Regions from separate parts of the Homo sapiens genome. Here all the other regions are linked to region 1. The links are contacts of gene promoters, found by promoter capture Hi-C in blood cells and fetal thymus (Javierre and others, 2016). All regions are on one chromosome and are shown on one strand. Each heading gives the region's core, a stretch centred on a gene start or on the middle of the fragment in contact. The rest is flanking DNA. Distances are from core to core; before and after follow the strand shown. Region 1 holds the start of ZNF649 (zinc finger protein 649). Region 2 has its middle 3.9 kb from the start of ZNF813. Region 3 overlaps ZNF677 (zinc finger protein 677).

What was found. The method cuts DNA at HindIII sites, captures the fragments that hold promoters and counts their contacts. A CHiCAGO score of 5 or more calls a contact.
Region 2: a contact is called between a fragment that was not itself captured here and the fragment with the promoter of ZNF649 in region 1, in 1 of 17 cell types (non-activated CD4 T cells). The highest score is 6.4, in non-activated CD4 T cells.
Region 3: a fragment that was not itself captured here is called in contact with the fragment with the promoter of ZNF649 in region 1 in 1 of 17 cell types (fetal thymus); the score reaches 5.1 in fetal thymus.

The regions. Positions count from the first base shown.
Region 1 is chr19:51,903,025-51,908,180 of GRCh38, reverse strand. It overlaps ZNF649 (zinc finger protein 649), which reads left to right and starts at 3,164. Exons shown (of 5, transcript NM_023074.4): 1 at 3,164-3,267. RefSeq lists enhancers at 1-338, 339-1,014, 1,898-2,522, 3,013-3,132, 2,851-3,395 and 1 more. The HindIII fragment of the contact is 3,228 bases long and covers 1,813-5,040 here.
Region 2 is chr19:53,461,264-53,466,419 of GRCh38, reverse strand. It overlaps the pseudogene VN1R102P. Among named protein-coding and RNA genes, the nearest start is that of ZNF813, 3.9 kb to the left of the region's middle. The HindIII fragment of the contact is 3,353 bases long and covers 372-3,724 here.
Region 3 is chr19:53,236,290-53,241,445 of GRCh38, reverse strand. It overlaps ZNF677 (zinc finger protein 677), which reads left to right. Exons shown (of 5, transcript NM_182609.4): 5 at 2,889-5,156. The coding sequence ends at 4,474. Among named protein-coding and RNA genes, the nearest start is that of ZNF677, 16 kb to the left of the region's middle. The HindIII fragment of the contact is 300 bases long and covers 2,476-2,775 here.

The DNA of each region.
Region 1 (5,156 bases), core at 1,915-4,414:
CGTCTCTGTGGGCACAGGGTTGGGGCTCAGGTTACAGATTAACAGCATCTCAAGGCAGAAGAATTTCTCTTAGTACAGAACAAAATGGAGTTTCTTATGTCTACTTCTTTCTACATAGACACAGTAACAGTCTGATCTCTCTTTCTTTTCCCCAAACAACTTTTAAAGTCAGTAGCTGAGATGCAGGGACTTGTCATGAGCCTTGTCTACCCAAGCTAAGTGGCCTATTTTTTCCCCCTTTCTCAAGGCATATTCTCTGTTGTAGGGACACCTGAAATTCCTTTAAGATGGCCATGCTCAGTGGGCTGCCTCTTGACAGTTTCCTAGTAGTCAGTCAATAAAGGGTGCAGTCACCTCTCCGCAGCTCACTGAGGTGGACATACTTGGCACTGTGCTGGCCTTGTATCGGGGGACCTGCCCCAATAATCACGTAGGTTCTTTTCTATTTGCCTAAGCGTCGACTGGCTTGAGAAATAAAAGGACAGAGTACAAAAGAGAGAAATTTTAAAGCTGGGCCTCCGGGGGAGACATCACACATTGGTAGGATCTGTGATGCCCCACAAGCCACAAAAACCAGCAAGTTTTTATTAGGGAGTTTCAAAAGGGGAGGGAGGATACGAATAGGTGTGGGTGACAGACATCAAGTACTTAACAGGGTAATAGAATATCACAAGGCAAGTGGAGGCAGGGCGAGATCACAGGACCACAGGACCGAAGTGAAATTAAAATTGCTAATGAAGTTTTGGGCACCATTGTCATTGATAACATCTTATCAGGAGACAGGGTTTTGAGATCAACCGGTCTGACCAAAGTTTATTAGGCGGGAATTTCCTCTTCCTAACAAGCCTGGGAGCGCTATGGGAGACTGGAGTTTATTTCACCTCTGCAATCTCGACCATAAGAGACAGGTACGCCCGGGGGAGGCCAGTTCAGAGACCTACCCCTAGGTGCGCATTCTGTTTCTCAGGGACGTTCCATGCTGAGAAAAGGAATTCAGTGATATTTCTCCCATTTGCTTTTGAAAGAAGACAAATATGGCTCTGTTCCGCCCGGCTCACCGGCGGTCAGAGTTAAAGGTTCTCTCTCTTATTCCCTGAACAATTGCTGTTATCCTGTTCTTTTTTCAGGGTGCCCACATTTCATATTGCTCAAACACACATGCTGTACAATTTGTGTAGTTAACACAATTATTACAGGGTCCTGAGACGATATACATCCTTCTCGGCTGACAGGATTAAGAGATTAAAGCAAAGACAGGCATAGGAAATCACAAGGATATTGATTGGGGAAGTGATAAGTGTCCATGAAATCTTTACGATTTATGTTTACAGATTGCAGTAAAGACAGGCATAAGAAATTACAAAAGTATTAATTTGGGGAACTAATAAATGTCCATAAAATCTTCACAATCCATGTTTTTCTGCCATGGCTTCAGCCGGTCCCTCCGTTTGGGGTCCCTGACTTCCCGCAACAGCCTTGGTTGCATTTGAGCCTCTGAATATCTGTGTGGTTTGTGCAGTGAAGGGGTGGCCTGCCTCTCCACATCTGTGGGTGTTTCTCGTCAGGTGGGACGAGAGACTGAGAAAAGAAGAGATACAGAGACAAAGTATAGAGAAAGAAAAGTGGGTCCAGGGGACCGGTGCTCAGCATACAGAGGACCCGCGCCGGCACCGGTCTCTGAGTCCCTCAGTATTTATTGATCATTATCTCTACCATCTCGGAGAGGGGGATGTGGCAGGACAATAGGATAATAGTGGGGAGAGTGTCAGCAGGAAAACATGTGAACAAATGTCTCTGTGTCATAAACAAGCTTAAGAAGAAGGTGCTGTGCTTTGATATGCACATACATAAACGTCTCGGTGCATTAAAGAGCAGTATTGCCGCCAGCTTGTCTCACCTCCAGCCCTAAGGCGATTTTCTCCTATCTCAGTAGATGGAACATACAATCGGGTTTTATACCGAGACATTCCATTGCCCAGGGACGAGCAGGAGACAGATGCCTTCCTCTTGTCTCAACTGCAAGAGGCCTTCCTTCCTCTTATACTAATCCTCCTCAGCACAGACCCTTTACGGGTGTCGGGCTGAGGGATGGTCAGGTCTTTCCCTTCCCACGAGGCCATATTTCAGACTATCACATGGGGAGAAACCTTGGATAATACCTGGCTTTCTGGGGCAGAGGTCCCTGTGGCCTTCCGCAGTGTATTGTGTCCCTGGGTACTTGAGATTAGAGAGTGGTGATGACTTTTAACAAGCATACTGCCTTCAAGCATTTGTTTAACAAAGCACATCCTGCATAGCCCTAAATCCATTAAACCTTGAGTCAACACAGCACACGTCTCTGTGAGAACAGGGTTGGGGGTAGGGTTACAGATTAACAGCATCTCAAGGCAGAAGAATTTTTCTTAGTACGGAACAAAATGGAGTCTCTTATGTCTACTTCTTTCTACATAGACACAGTAACAGTCTGATCTCTCTTTCTTTTCCCCACAGTGCACTGTTGTTAGTGCTCCAACCTCACAGTGCAGGGGTTGAGGTGTCAGGAGAGGGAACACATCAGTGCCATTTCACTGTCTCCTGTGTCAAAGCAAAATTAAAATGCAGACCAGAATTCAAAAACTCCTGAGCAAACAAAACCCAGTAGGCCTTAAAAACAGCCTTAACCTTGCTTAACCTGCAAACATAAGCAACAATTCACTTGAGTCATTTCTGGTAAATGCTTGTGTTAGGGAAGGACAAAACTCAATCTCAACCGATCAAAAGTAGGCAACTCACATGCTATTATGTCATTAGGGACTTTCCAAGGCAAATTTAAAAAAATGCATTTTTATAATTGTAACTAATCAAATAATTTCTTTGTTTTACTCCTTCACTCACCCTGTGAATACTTGTGTCTAATGCTTTAAGCATAGAAGCGCGAGACTTCTTTTGGTTTGATGCTTCCTAATTCATGAATTGCTGTTTGTTCAGATAAACTCTAGAAAATGCTCCTGCGCCTCAAATTTTTGCTTTCAGGAGAGTCATCCCGGTTTAATGACACAAGAACAACTGTTTCCCTTCTGTACGGCAGATCTACCAAGATGGCCGCGCCCAGAGAGCCGTGGCTCAGGGCGCGGACATGTTACCTCCTCGAAGAGAAGCCCATGTCCCATCGTCCTAGCGCGGCAGAATTGACTCGCGCCCTCGTCCGCCGCCATAGGCCAGTGCCGGGGTTTAAGGGCCAGGAAAGGAAGCATTCAGGGAATTTAGGTGTAGCCAGAAGAAAATCAGGTGAGTGTTTGGGTCTCTCCGTGGAGTAGGTTAAAGGGGTAGGGAGCTTCTGAGGAGCCTGTGGGGAGAGCTGGCGGCCTGGGCGGTGGAGCCTTTGGGTTGGGGTGCCTTTGCGGTCCGGCGTGGGAGAGTTCTTGTGGTCGGGCGTTAAAGGTCTGTCGAGTTCAGCGACTGAGACTCGGCGTCAGAGTTTGGGGTCTCTGAGGGTCACTCTGTTAGTAGGCCTCTGGATCACTGGATGGAGAACTCTAGGGGGACGCTGCCCAGCACGCCGGCTTTATCACCGACGCCATTATTATCACTCCAAATGCTGCAGTTTAAAGTCGGTGATGAAGCCGGGGTGCTGGGCAGCGTACGAGGGTGTGTGGTGTAGGTTTTGGGGTGAATCGGGGATGTGTGTTAAGTGTTTCGGGGAGGCCCAGGCATGTGGGGCTCAGAGGCTTGTAAAATCTGGTATTTTACAAGCCCAGGCCCCTGGCTGGGGTTGAGTTGTGAAACTATAACCGCCCACCCTTGCCGGCTGCCTAGACAGAGCCGACTTGTTAAGACAGGGAAATTGCAATGGAGAAAGAGCAATTCATGCAGAGCCGGCTGTGCGGGGAGACCGGAGTTTTATTATTACTCAAATCAGTGATAAAAGAAAAATTGAAGCCGAATTAAATTTACAGGAGTTTCCTTGAGCAATGAACGATTCGCGAATTGGGCAGCCCCCAGAATCACAGCAGATTAACAGAGACTCCAGGGGTGCCTCGTGGTCAGAACAAATTTATAGACAAAAAAGGTAAAGTGACATACAGGAATCGGAAGCGAGGTCCAGAAACAGTGAGATTGGTTACCATTCGGCGTTTGCCTTATTTGAACGCAGTTGGAACATTCAGCAGTCTATGAGTATGGCCGCTGGGACTGGCCACCACTCAGCTATTGTTACAGGTGCATACGATTAAGTTCGGTTTTCAATTTTGTCTGTTAAGCTAGGTTGCAGTTTATCCACAAGGACTCAAATATAGAAGTATGGAGTCGTTCTCAGGCAATATTTAGTTTGCTTAAGCATCAGTCTCCTTGAGCATTTGGGGATCAAAGTTTCCTCCTATCCCCCAGACGGAATCTAGCTCTGTTGTCCAGTCTGGAGTGCAGTGGTGCGATCTCAGCTCACTGCAACCTCCGCCTCCTGGGTTCTAGCGACTGTCCTGCCTCAGCCTCCCGAGTGGCTGGGATTACAGGCGCCCGCCACCACGCCCGGCTAATTTTTGTATTTTTAGTAGAGACAGGCTTTCACCACGTTGGCCAGGCTGGTCTTGAACTCCTGACCTCAGGTGATCTGCCCGCCTCGGCCTTCCAAAGTGCTGGGATTATAGGCATGAGCCATCGCGCCTAGCTATGATTGTTACGATTTATAAGAAATGTATAATCGATCTTTGTCCTGTTTCCTGGCACATGTCTCCCAAAAGCCTTGGAACCTCTTCAGTAAACAGTGCCTTTTTGTGTGGCATTGAGATGGCTGGTGACTGGGGGCTTCTGGCTGGCCTTAGGACGGGGGAGGCTGGTTGCCAGGGCAACTAACCATGTCATTTGAGGGTTGGAAATTTTAGCTCTGCCTGGCAACAGGGAAGTTGAAGGTTGAGTTGATCACCAGTGGTTAGTGTTTTAATCAAGTATGCCCACATAATGAAACCAGCGTAAAAACTCAAAAGGACTGGTGAACTTCTGGGGAACTTACAGATTCTTGAGCATGTGGAGGTGCCTGAGGGTGGTGAACTGAGTCTCTAATAAGCTTCCGTGGAGGGCATGGAAGTCCCACGCCCCTTGCTACAAACCTTGCTCTGTGCTATCCCTTCCATCTGCCTCTTCATCTGTATCCTTCGTAATATCCTTTATTCCTTTTCCCATTT
Region 2 (5,156 bases), core at 799-3,298, 1.6 Mb before region 1:
CAGGGAAGAGGACTTGACAACACCCTTGGTCACACATAGTTCATCCTGGCTCTACTTGGTAATGGAGGTAACCATCTGTGTCAGCTAAGTAGCTTCATGCCGAGGAGGGGAAGAAACCCTAACCCATGTTTTTTTGACAAGTGTGAGTTTTACAACATGGCGACAGGTGCCCTCTGTAGTGAGGCTCCTAAAATCCGACAGAAACTGATGTCAGCAGTAAATAATAAAATTTAGAATTTATGATTAAATATAGAGTTTATCTGAACACAAAGCATGAGGATAGCCACTGGCAAACATCAACTCCAAATGAATGGGATCAGCGTTCCATAGTAGAGACGTTTAGGTTTCACACACAGGGAAAGACAGAAGCTTTAGGACAATCACATTTTCCATTCAAGACCAGTGCATAGGTTGCAGCAAGTTGATTGGTGACAGAGTGATACACTTCAAGGAAGGTTACTTTATCACTCCATAAAAAGGGACAATGATCTCAGGAGGTCTTATCTCTGGGGTTGCTTAGTCTTTCTAATTATTTACATGAAAACTTTTCCTGTAAATAAGAGGAAGACTTGCATAGGCTGGAGTGCAGTGGGGCGACCTCGGCTCACTGCAACCTCTACCTCTCAGATTCAAGCAGTTCTCTTGCCTCAGCCTCCCAAGTAGCTGGGATTACAGGTGCATGCCACCATTGTTTTTTTTTGTTTGAGACAGAGTCTCGCTCTGTTGCCTAAGCTGGAGAGCAATGACACGATCTCAGCTGCTTACTGCAACCTCTGCCTCCCGGGTTCAAGCGATTCTCCTGGCTCAGGCTCTCGAGTAGCTAGGAGCCCAGCTAACTTTTGTATTTTTAGTAGAGATGGGGTTTCACCATGTAGGGCAGGCTGGTCTCAAACTCCTGACCTTGTGATCCACCCGCCCAAGCCTTCCAATTTTCTGGGATTACAGGTGTGAGCCACCACGCCTGGCCTTTTGTTTTGTATTTTTAGTAGAGAGGTGGTTTCACCATGTTGGCCATGCTAGTTTCAAACTCTTGACCTCAAGTGATCTGTCCACCTCGACCTCCCAAAGTGGTGAGATTACAGGTGTGGGCCACCACACGTGGCAAGGAAAACTCGTAGAAGTTACGCCTGCATTCCACTGGACTCAAGCTGAATGAGCACATTTCTCTCAAGGTGTAGCAGGACGAGCCACAGACAAAAGCCCTCACACACAGGGTTAAAGAAGGAAGTTGCTTTATTTGGCCGGGAGCATCGGCTGACTGGCATCTCAAGAACCGAGCTCCCCCAAGAAGGAGTTCCTGGTCCTTTTAAGGGCTTACAACTGTAAGGGGTTCCACGTGAAAGGGTCATGATAGATTGAGAGCACATGTGGTTAGAGTTGGGGGTTAATATTTTAACCTCAGGCCTGGTCATCAGTGGCACCAGCTGGTCTTGCCACTGACTTCATTCCTGTTGTTTTTCAGCTTTTACTTCAGAGACAGGAGACAGTAAGAGAAATGGCCTCTCTCTTCAAAGGCTCATAATTATTTAAAGGTCATAGCTTTAAATTGGAATTATTTGATGTATGAATTATTTAATTTCCTACTGAGATACAGGTACTGTCTCCCTTGTATTTTGCCTTTCAAAGAGAGCTCCCAAGTCCTTCAGAAATACATCCCTGGGTCATCAAGCTGAAAAAAGGTTTAGTTAGTTTCTAAAAAATACCACTTCAGACCAGGTGTGGTGGTTCACACCTGTAATCCCAGCACTTTCAGAGGCCAAGATGGCGAATCACTTGAGGTCAGGAGTTCGAAACCGGGCTTGTACCCGGAAGTTGAAGGCTGCGGTGAACTGGGATCGTGCAATTGCACTCTAGCCTAAGCAACAAAAGCAAAACTCCATCTAAAAAACAAACAACAAAAACAAAACAACAAAAAACCTCAGAAGACAGACAAAATCCATTTACAAATTTTCTAAATAAGTCTCCTAAGAAAAGAGACGAAAGGAAAGTAAATCTCTTTATTTTCACAGGAGGAATTACACCTCTCATTTATTTGCTTGTTTGTTTGAGACAGGGTCTAGCTCTGACACCCAGGCTAGAGTGTGGTGGTGAGATCAGGGCTCACTGCAGCCTCCAACTCCCTGGCTCAAGCGATCCTCCCACCTCAGCGCTCCAGCAGCTGGGACCACAGGCGCGCACCACCACACTTGGCTGATTTTTTTATATTTTTATTAGAGACGACGTCTCATCATGTTGCCCAGGCTGATCTCAAACTCCTGGGCTCAAGCGATCCTCTCACTTCGGCCACTCAAAGTGCTGGGATTACAAGTGTGAACCACCGCTCCGGGCCCTGACTTTATTTCCATGAAATATGAAATTGTCCTTCACCTCCTGTGTATAATAGGCAGTTCTGCTTGTCACCCTTCAGTTTCCATTATCCACTCAAACAACCCAACCCAGGACCTTGCTTAGTTTAATAAGCCGTTCTAATTGTCTGTGCCCGCTGCAACCAGCGCCCCACTCCACCCCTTTACCGAGGTCCCTGACCCTCTCCACCGCCCTGCCCCAGACTGAGGGGAGCTTGCCCCGCCTGCAGGACGCGCGACTCTACCTTCTCCAAAAAAGCTCTTTGCATTGAAACTATTTTCAACTTAAGAGGAAAAACGATTCAACGTTCAGTACAGGTGGCCCACTACAATATGTTGTTTTACCTTCGATTGTTCGAAATAGTAACTTCAACGGGCAGGAAGCATCCCTGTGATATTAGGGGTAATATCATGGCACATCAGAAACAATCCACCAATCAGAACCCGGAGGACCCAGTCCTGGAGGGCAAGAGGATGAGAGCAGGCGACATCCACGGCCCAGCTGAGAAAAGAATCCGGACCCGCCCCCTCCAGGCCCCGCCCTTCAGAACAAAAAACCCCTTCCAGACCCCACCCCCAAGATGACGCTAACCCTCGGGTCCCGCCTTTTCCTGCTGTCCAGCCCGGCCCCCAGGCAGCCTCCTCCCTCTTGCCCCGCCCACTCCCATTCCAGGCCCCACCCCCACCCTCTAACCAGGCCCGGTTTCCAAAGCTGCCTCCACCCTCTCTCCCCGACCCAGCACCTGTTCTGGCCCGGCCCCCTCGGCGACCTTTACCCCTCCCGTTCCGTCCCCGCTCTCTGTCCAGAACCCGCCCAGAAGGAATCTGGGTGCTTCGGGATGTTGAAATCCCCACGCGAGTTTGTGCAGTTGTCAGGGAGTCCCGGCTTCCCCATGGGAAGCTCGCAGGCCCAGTGGCTCTGCAGCTTTTGTATCGTTTTAGACCGTGTCCTCCGCCTTTCAATACCCTATTGCCCTTTCCAATAATCCCAGTTGGCGGCTGCTGAGCGCCTCACCCTTCATCCACCCATGTTTCCCAGCTGTCAGCCCCTTTGTTCTCGTGAGCGCTGACTCCACAGTGTGGATCTTTGCTTGGCATGCTGGATGAGGACTACCAAATTCCTGCTTTTGTGAGAATTGGATTAATTGTCTGTTTTTGTATAACGTTCAGTCGTTTTGTTGCCTAAAATGGTGTCACAGTCCACACCCCATGTGAGAGTTCTTGGATCTTGCGCAGTAAAAAATTCAAGGCGAGGGTCCGAGTGTAGTGAGGCGAGAGAGTTTATTGAAAGCTACCAGTTACGCAGTAGGGCGTCCTCAGAAAGCAGGGGGAACGCCTCCTCCTGAAGTTTTTCTTACATAGAGGCCTACGTAAAAGCTTTTTTTTTTTTTTTTTTTTTTTGAGATGGAGTCTCGCTCTGTTGCCCAGGCTGGAGTGCAGTGGCGCGATCTGGGCTCACTGCAAGCTCCGCCTCCCGGGTTCACGCCATTCTCCTGCCTCTGCCTCCCAAGTAGCTGGGACTACAGGCGCCCGCCACTACGCCCGGCTAATTTTTTGTATTTTTAGTAGAGACGGGGTTTCATCGTGTTAGCCAGGATTGTCTCGATCTCCTGACCTCGTGATCCACCTGCCTCGGCCTCCCAAAGTGCTGGGATTACAGGCGTGAGCCACCGCGCCCGGCCAAAGCCTACGTAAAAGCTAAGGTATGTCTACCTGCGGGTGGGCTGACACTGTAACAAAACTTATTACTTTGTTGATTTAAAGCTATCCTTGGCCAGGCGCAATGGCTTACGCCTGTATTGACAGCGCTTTGGAAGGCCGAGGCAGGTGGATCACCGGAGGTCAGGAGTCCGAGACCAGCCTGCTATCTTAAAAGCATACATTGTCATGGGATATTGGGTCATCTGGACATTGTGTTTCTGTAGAAATTTGTCCTTGCAGGTATCAATAAGCTGCTTTCCTTAACCATAAACATCTTATGACGGTGACTCGTGCATGAGCTGTAAGGAATATGTCTTGCTAGTTTTAATGGACTTGAACTTTGTCACCCTAGCTCTCCTAGGTTCCTGCTTAACAGTTTATCCATTCATGCAACATAGTCCTAAGCACAATTATGGAGACACCAGTCTCTCGTAATGTATCTGACAGACTGAGCTTCTGCCCCAAGAACATAGTAATAGCAATACTAAGTGAAATATTAGGAAGTTTTATGTATGTATATAATTGATCATTTATTATTTGCAGTTTAAGTTGGCTAAAATTACATAGAATGGGTTATTTTAATCAAATACTAGAAATATATATCATTCGCAAATGGAATCTAATCACACAAAGTTGAAGAGCATTTCCCTATGTTGAATAAATATGAAGGAGTTCAGATTTTGGAACTGATTTCGTGCTTTCCATGACACCTAGCTTTTTTCTTATTCTCTCAATTTCTTCTGCGTTCATGAGCTTGTGAACTAAAAGTATCTACTAGGTCTCAGTCAATTTAGAAATCTATTTTGCCAAGGTTAAAAATGCCCCCGTGACACAGCCTCAGGAGGTCCTGACAATGTGTGCCCAAGGTGTTCAGGCTGCAGTTTGGTTTTACACATTTTGCAGAGACATAATACATCAATCAATACATGTAAGATATGCATTGGTTCAGTCTGGAAAGGTGGAATAACTGGAATTGGGGGGCTTCCGGGTCACAGGTAGATAACAAATGATCACATTCTTTGAGTCTTTGATCAACCTTTCACTAAATACACAATTTATATGTGAGAGCGGGAGGAGGAATAGTCACTTATGCCTTCGACTGCCTCAGTG
Region 3 (5,156 bases), core at 1,376-3,875, 1.3 Mb before region 1:
CTTCAGTATGATTTTTATGCCTTTATTGAGGGAGCTTACAAAGTTGAATTAGGCATACATTTTTAAAGTTCAGTATAATTTGGTTAAGCCACTGACACTTTCATTTTGCCAATGTCATTGGTATAAATGAACTTGTATGTATTTAATCAGCAGTTACATGTTTTCATGATACTCTTAGTGTTTTTTGTTTTATATCTACAGTGTGTGGGGCCATGAGATGAATGAATATTGTTTTATTATATATATTTTTTTCTGCTTCATATACTTTCATGATGTTTTATATGTTTTACCAGAAGATTTCTTCCTTGAGTATTTATGTCTGAGTATTAGTTTCCTCAAAACATATATAACCTCCAAAACTTTGTTAAAGGATAGTATTAGTTATTCCTTTTACTTCTGTTTCCTGTAACTTTATATCAACTCTTAGCTTATACTTTTTAAAAATAGACTTTCTATTTTTTAGCAATTTTATGTTCACAGCAAACTAGATTTCCTGTATACTCTGTTCCCCCACACGTGCACAGCGTCTTCCCCCATTATCACCATCCCCCATCACAGTGGTACATTTGTTAAAATTGATAAACCTACATTGACACATCATTATCACCCAAAGTCCATAGTCGATGTTGGGGTTCACTCTATGTATATGCTTTGGGTTTGGGCAAATATATAATAGACATATATCCTCCATAATAGTATCTTACAGAATAATTACACTGCCCTAAAAAATCTGTGCTCTGTCTGTTCATCTCTCCCTCCCCCCAGCACCTGGCAACCACTGATCTCTTTACTGTCTCCATAGATTTGCCTTTTTCAGAATGTCATATAGTTGGAACCATATAGTATATGGCCTTTTCAGATTGGCTTCTTTCACTTAATAATATGCATTTCAATTTCTAGGGCTGGGCGTGGTGGCTCACGCCTGTAATCCCAGCACTTTGGGAGGCCGAGGCCGGCGGATCACGAGGTCAGGAGATCAAGACGATCCTGGCTAACATGGTGAAACCCCGTCTCTACTAAAAATACAGAAAATAAGCCGGGCGTGGTGGCGGGCACCTGTAGTTCCAGCTACTCAGGAGGCTGAGGCAGGAGAATGGCGTGAACCTGGGAGGCAGAGGTTGTGATGAGCCGAGACCATGCCACTGCACTCCAGCCTGGGCAACAGAGCGAGACTCCATCTCAAAAAATAGATAAATAAAATAAATTTCTTCCATGTCTTTTTATAGCTTGACAGCTCATTTCTTTTTAGCACAGAATAACATCCCTTCATTGCACACACTGTGTAAAGAATGACTCCTGCTTATACACAGGACAGCTTACTCAGGACAGCAACATGATCTGGTCACTGTCTAAACAACTTGTGCAAGATAAGGTGACTTAAATGCTATCTGAGAGCAGTGGTGCTGTCACACTATAGGTGACACAGCTCAGGTCCCATAATCTGCCTTGAAACATTTCTTCCTACACTCCTCGTATTTGCTGTGATTTATAATCCGTGCTGCCCTGGGTGGCCAGTGGTGCTTAATGCTGTGAACATGGCATCTTAGCCCGCACACACAGGTTCAGATTCTGGCTTTCAGATGTGCTTTCTCTGTGAGTTAGGGATAGATATGTAAACCTCTTCAGCCCTTTGTTTTGGTATGAAAAGGTGCGATAATTTACCTCAAGAGGATTTACATCAATTAGTGCTGTTAGAGACCTTAGTAACTTGCATAGCATTTAGTATGCTTTGAAAAGTTACCTTTATGAATAAGATATGTCAAGTGTCTGTCATGTTTCTTATGAGATTGACCTTTGCCTTCATTATATCTTACATATTTTCTTTTTTGTAATTTTTTTTTTCATATCAACATTTCTCTGACTCTACATAATAAAATGTTAAAGCACACAGCTTTCATTATATGTATTTTTTGGCCATAGAACTGGAAAACTAGATGACATTTCCTAGTCAGGGAGTTTCTCTATATACTGCTGTCATATAACTGCAGGCATGAAATTATTTCAGACTCCCCTCCTAATTCTTCATCTTTATAGTAATGTGCATTTACCTGAAGCTGATATTTCAAAATTTAGTGATTCTCAACATATTATTTTTCCTATTGTGTGTCCCTTCTGTTTTTTCTGTAGTTCATAAGCAGTAATTCTTTAGAATTTCACTGACAATTTTGTGTAATTGTGGTTGTTCATTAACTTGCCTGTTAGATTTTCACAGGTTACTAAAGTGTTTTATTTATTTTTGTAATGATTTACAGATGATGGTTTTTCAGTATATATTATGCAATAGAACCACCATGCACAAATTGTTAATGCTGCAAAATGCACATTCTACATGGGTGTAAGTAGTTTTATAACAAGTACTCACATTTGCAATTTGTAAATATTCAAAATTTTATTAAATTCTTCCGAATTTTTTCTTTCAGTGTTTTGTTTGCAATTATGAATTGTCATTTTTAAATATTTTTTATTAGATAAGCTTGAGCTGTGCCTTACCTTTTGTGTGTAATAATTATGTACTAAATAATGCATTACTATTTGTTTATCTTCAAATATGAGACTACCATATAGCTATGCCAATTTACGTGTTCCTTGGAGTGGTGGTGGAAAAATACCTCTTCTTTCAGAGTTTATGTGGATTTACATAGTATGAGTGTTTTAGCTATAGGGTGTTTTAAACTGTGCTTAAAATAATTTGTTACATGTTTTGTTACTGTGTTACTTTATTGAGGACAGCTAGTCCCTTTGTGTTGTTAAACGTTTAAAGACAGTTGAGAAGCTTCATAACTCTGTTCATTGTAAATCTTAGCTTTCTTGTAATATGTATTTTAATAAAATATTTACCTTGCAACTCTATTTGATGGAAAGCCTGTGGTTTTTTTAATATCTTTCAGATATTTCTGTTGGATTTACAAGCAAGGGATTATCACCAAAGGAAAATAATAAAGAGGAATTATACCATCTGGTGATATTAGAAAGAAAGGAAAGCCATGGCATCAACAATTTTGACCTCAAGGAAGTCTGGGAAAATATGCCTAAGTTTGACAGCCTGTGGGACTATGATGTAAAAAATTACAAAGGAATGCCTTTGACCTGTAACAAAAATCTCACTCACAGAAAAGATCAACAACATAATAAATCCTCAATACATTTCTCTTTAAAGCAGAGTGTTTCTATAAGAGATAGTGCACACCAGTATTTCATCCATGACAAGCCATTTATAAGGAATTTGTTAAAACTGAAAAATAACATAAGGTATGCCGGAAACAAATACGTGAAGTGTTTTGAAAATAAAATTGGATTAAGCTTACAGGCACAGCTGGCTGAACTACAGAGATTTCAAACTGGGGAGAAAATGTATGAATGTAATCCAGTTGAGAAGTCTATCAATAGTTCCTCAGTTTCACCACTTCCTCCTTGTGTCAAAAACATTTGTAATAAATATAGGAAGATTTTGAAATACCCTTTATTACATACACAGTATGGGAGAACACACATTAGAGAAAAATCATACAAGTGTAATGACTGTGGAAAGGCTTTTAGCAAAAGTTCGAACCTCACTAATCATCAGAGAATTCACTCTGGACAGAGACCTTACAAATGTAACGAGTGTGGCAAAGCCTTTAACCAGTGTTCGAACCTCACTAGGCATCAGAGAGTCCATACAGGAGAGAAACCATATCAATGTAATATATGTGGCAAGGTCTGTAGTCAAAATTCAAATCTTGCAAGTCATCAGAGGATGCATACTGGAGAGAAACCTTACAAATGTAATGAATGTGGTAAGGCATTTATCCAGCGTTCACACCTTTGGGGTCATGAAAGAATTCATACTGGAGAGAAACCTTACAAATGTAATGAATGTGACAAAGCCTTTGCTGAACGTTCAAGCCTTACCCAACATAAGAGAATCCATACTGGAGAGAAGCCTTACATATGTAATGAGTGTGGCAAAGCTTTTAAGCAGTGCTCACATCTCACTAGGCATCAGAATATACATCCTGGAGAGAAACCACACAAATGTAATGTGTGTGGCAGGGCTTTTATCCAAAGTTCAAGTCTTGTGGAACATCAGAGAATTCACACTGGAGAAAAACCTTACAAATGTAATAAATGTGATAAAGCTTTTATCAAACGTTCACACCTTTGGGGTCATCAGAGAACTCATACTGGAGAGAAACCTTACAAATGTACTGAATGTGGCAAAGCCTTTACTGAACGTTCAAATCTTACTCAGCATAAGAAAATCCATACTGGAGAGAAACCTTACAAATGTACTGAATGTGGCAAAGCTTTTACCCAATTTGCAAACCTCACTAGACACCAGAAAATACACATTGAAAAGAAACATTGTAAACATAATATACATGGTAATGCTTTATTCCAAAGTTCAAACCTTGGAGATCATCAAAAAAGTTATAATAGAGAAAAACATATCAAATATAATGAGACAAAAATTAAGTATTCAAGCTGTACCTAGCATCAGGGGCTCCATTGTGAAAAGAAACCATATAAAACGAAAATGTGGTAAAGCCTTTAGCTATGGCTTATGTCTCACTTGATACCAGAATATACATCTTTGAGATAAACCACACAAAGATAACATGTATGGCAAGGCTTATCCAAAGTTCAAGCCTTGTGGAACATCATAGAATTCTTACTGTAGAGAAGCCTTACAAATATAATGAATGTGAACAGCTTTATAAAAATATTTACCCTATTATGGTTATAACAGAAGACATTCAGGATGGAAACCATACAAATGTGGCAAGTCCTTTAAGCAATGTTCTGACTTCAGGATACACCATTCATATTGGAGAGAAGCATTACAAGTGAAGGTGGTAAATTATTTTAAATTTCTCAATGGAAATTCATCCTTATATGCAAGCATTTTGTCATACAAAAATTCAGGCTAGAGGGAACTAAGTCTTTTTTCCTTCTTGAAGATTAAGTGATTGATGTTAAATTCACAGACAATTTTAAAAAGTCACAAACTCATGGTGTGTGTCAGAGGAGCAAGGACATCTGTGGAAAGATGTAACTTCAGTGTTAAAAATTTTTTATTCAGTTATTTCATATTTTTAAAAGTATGAAATCTGTTGCTGTTAAATCTTCATGGCATGCTTTTCATTTATCATGATTGTCTCAAGGAATGGATGTAA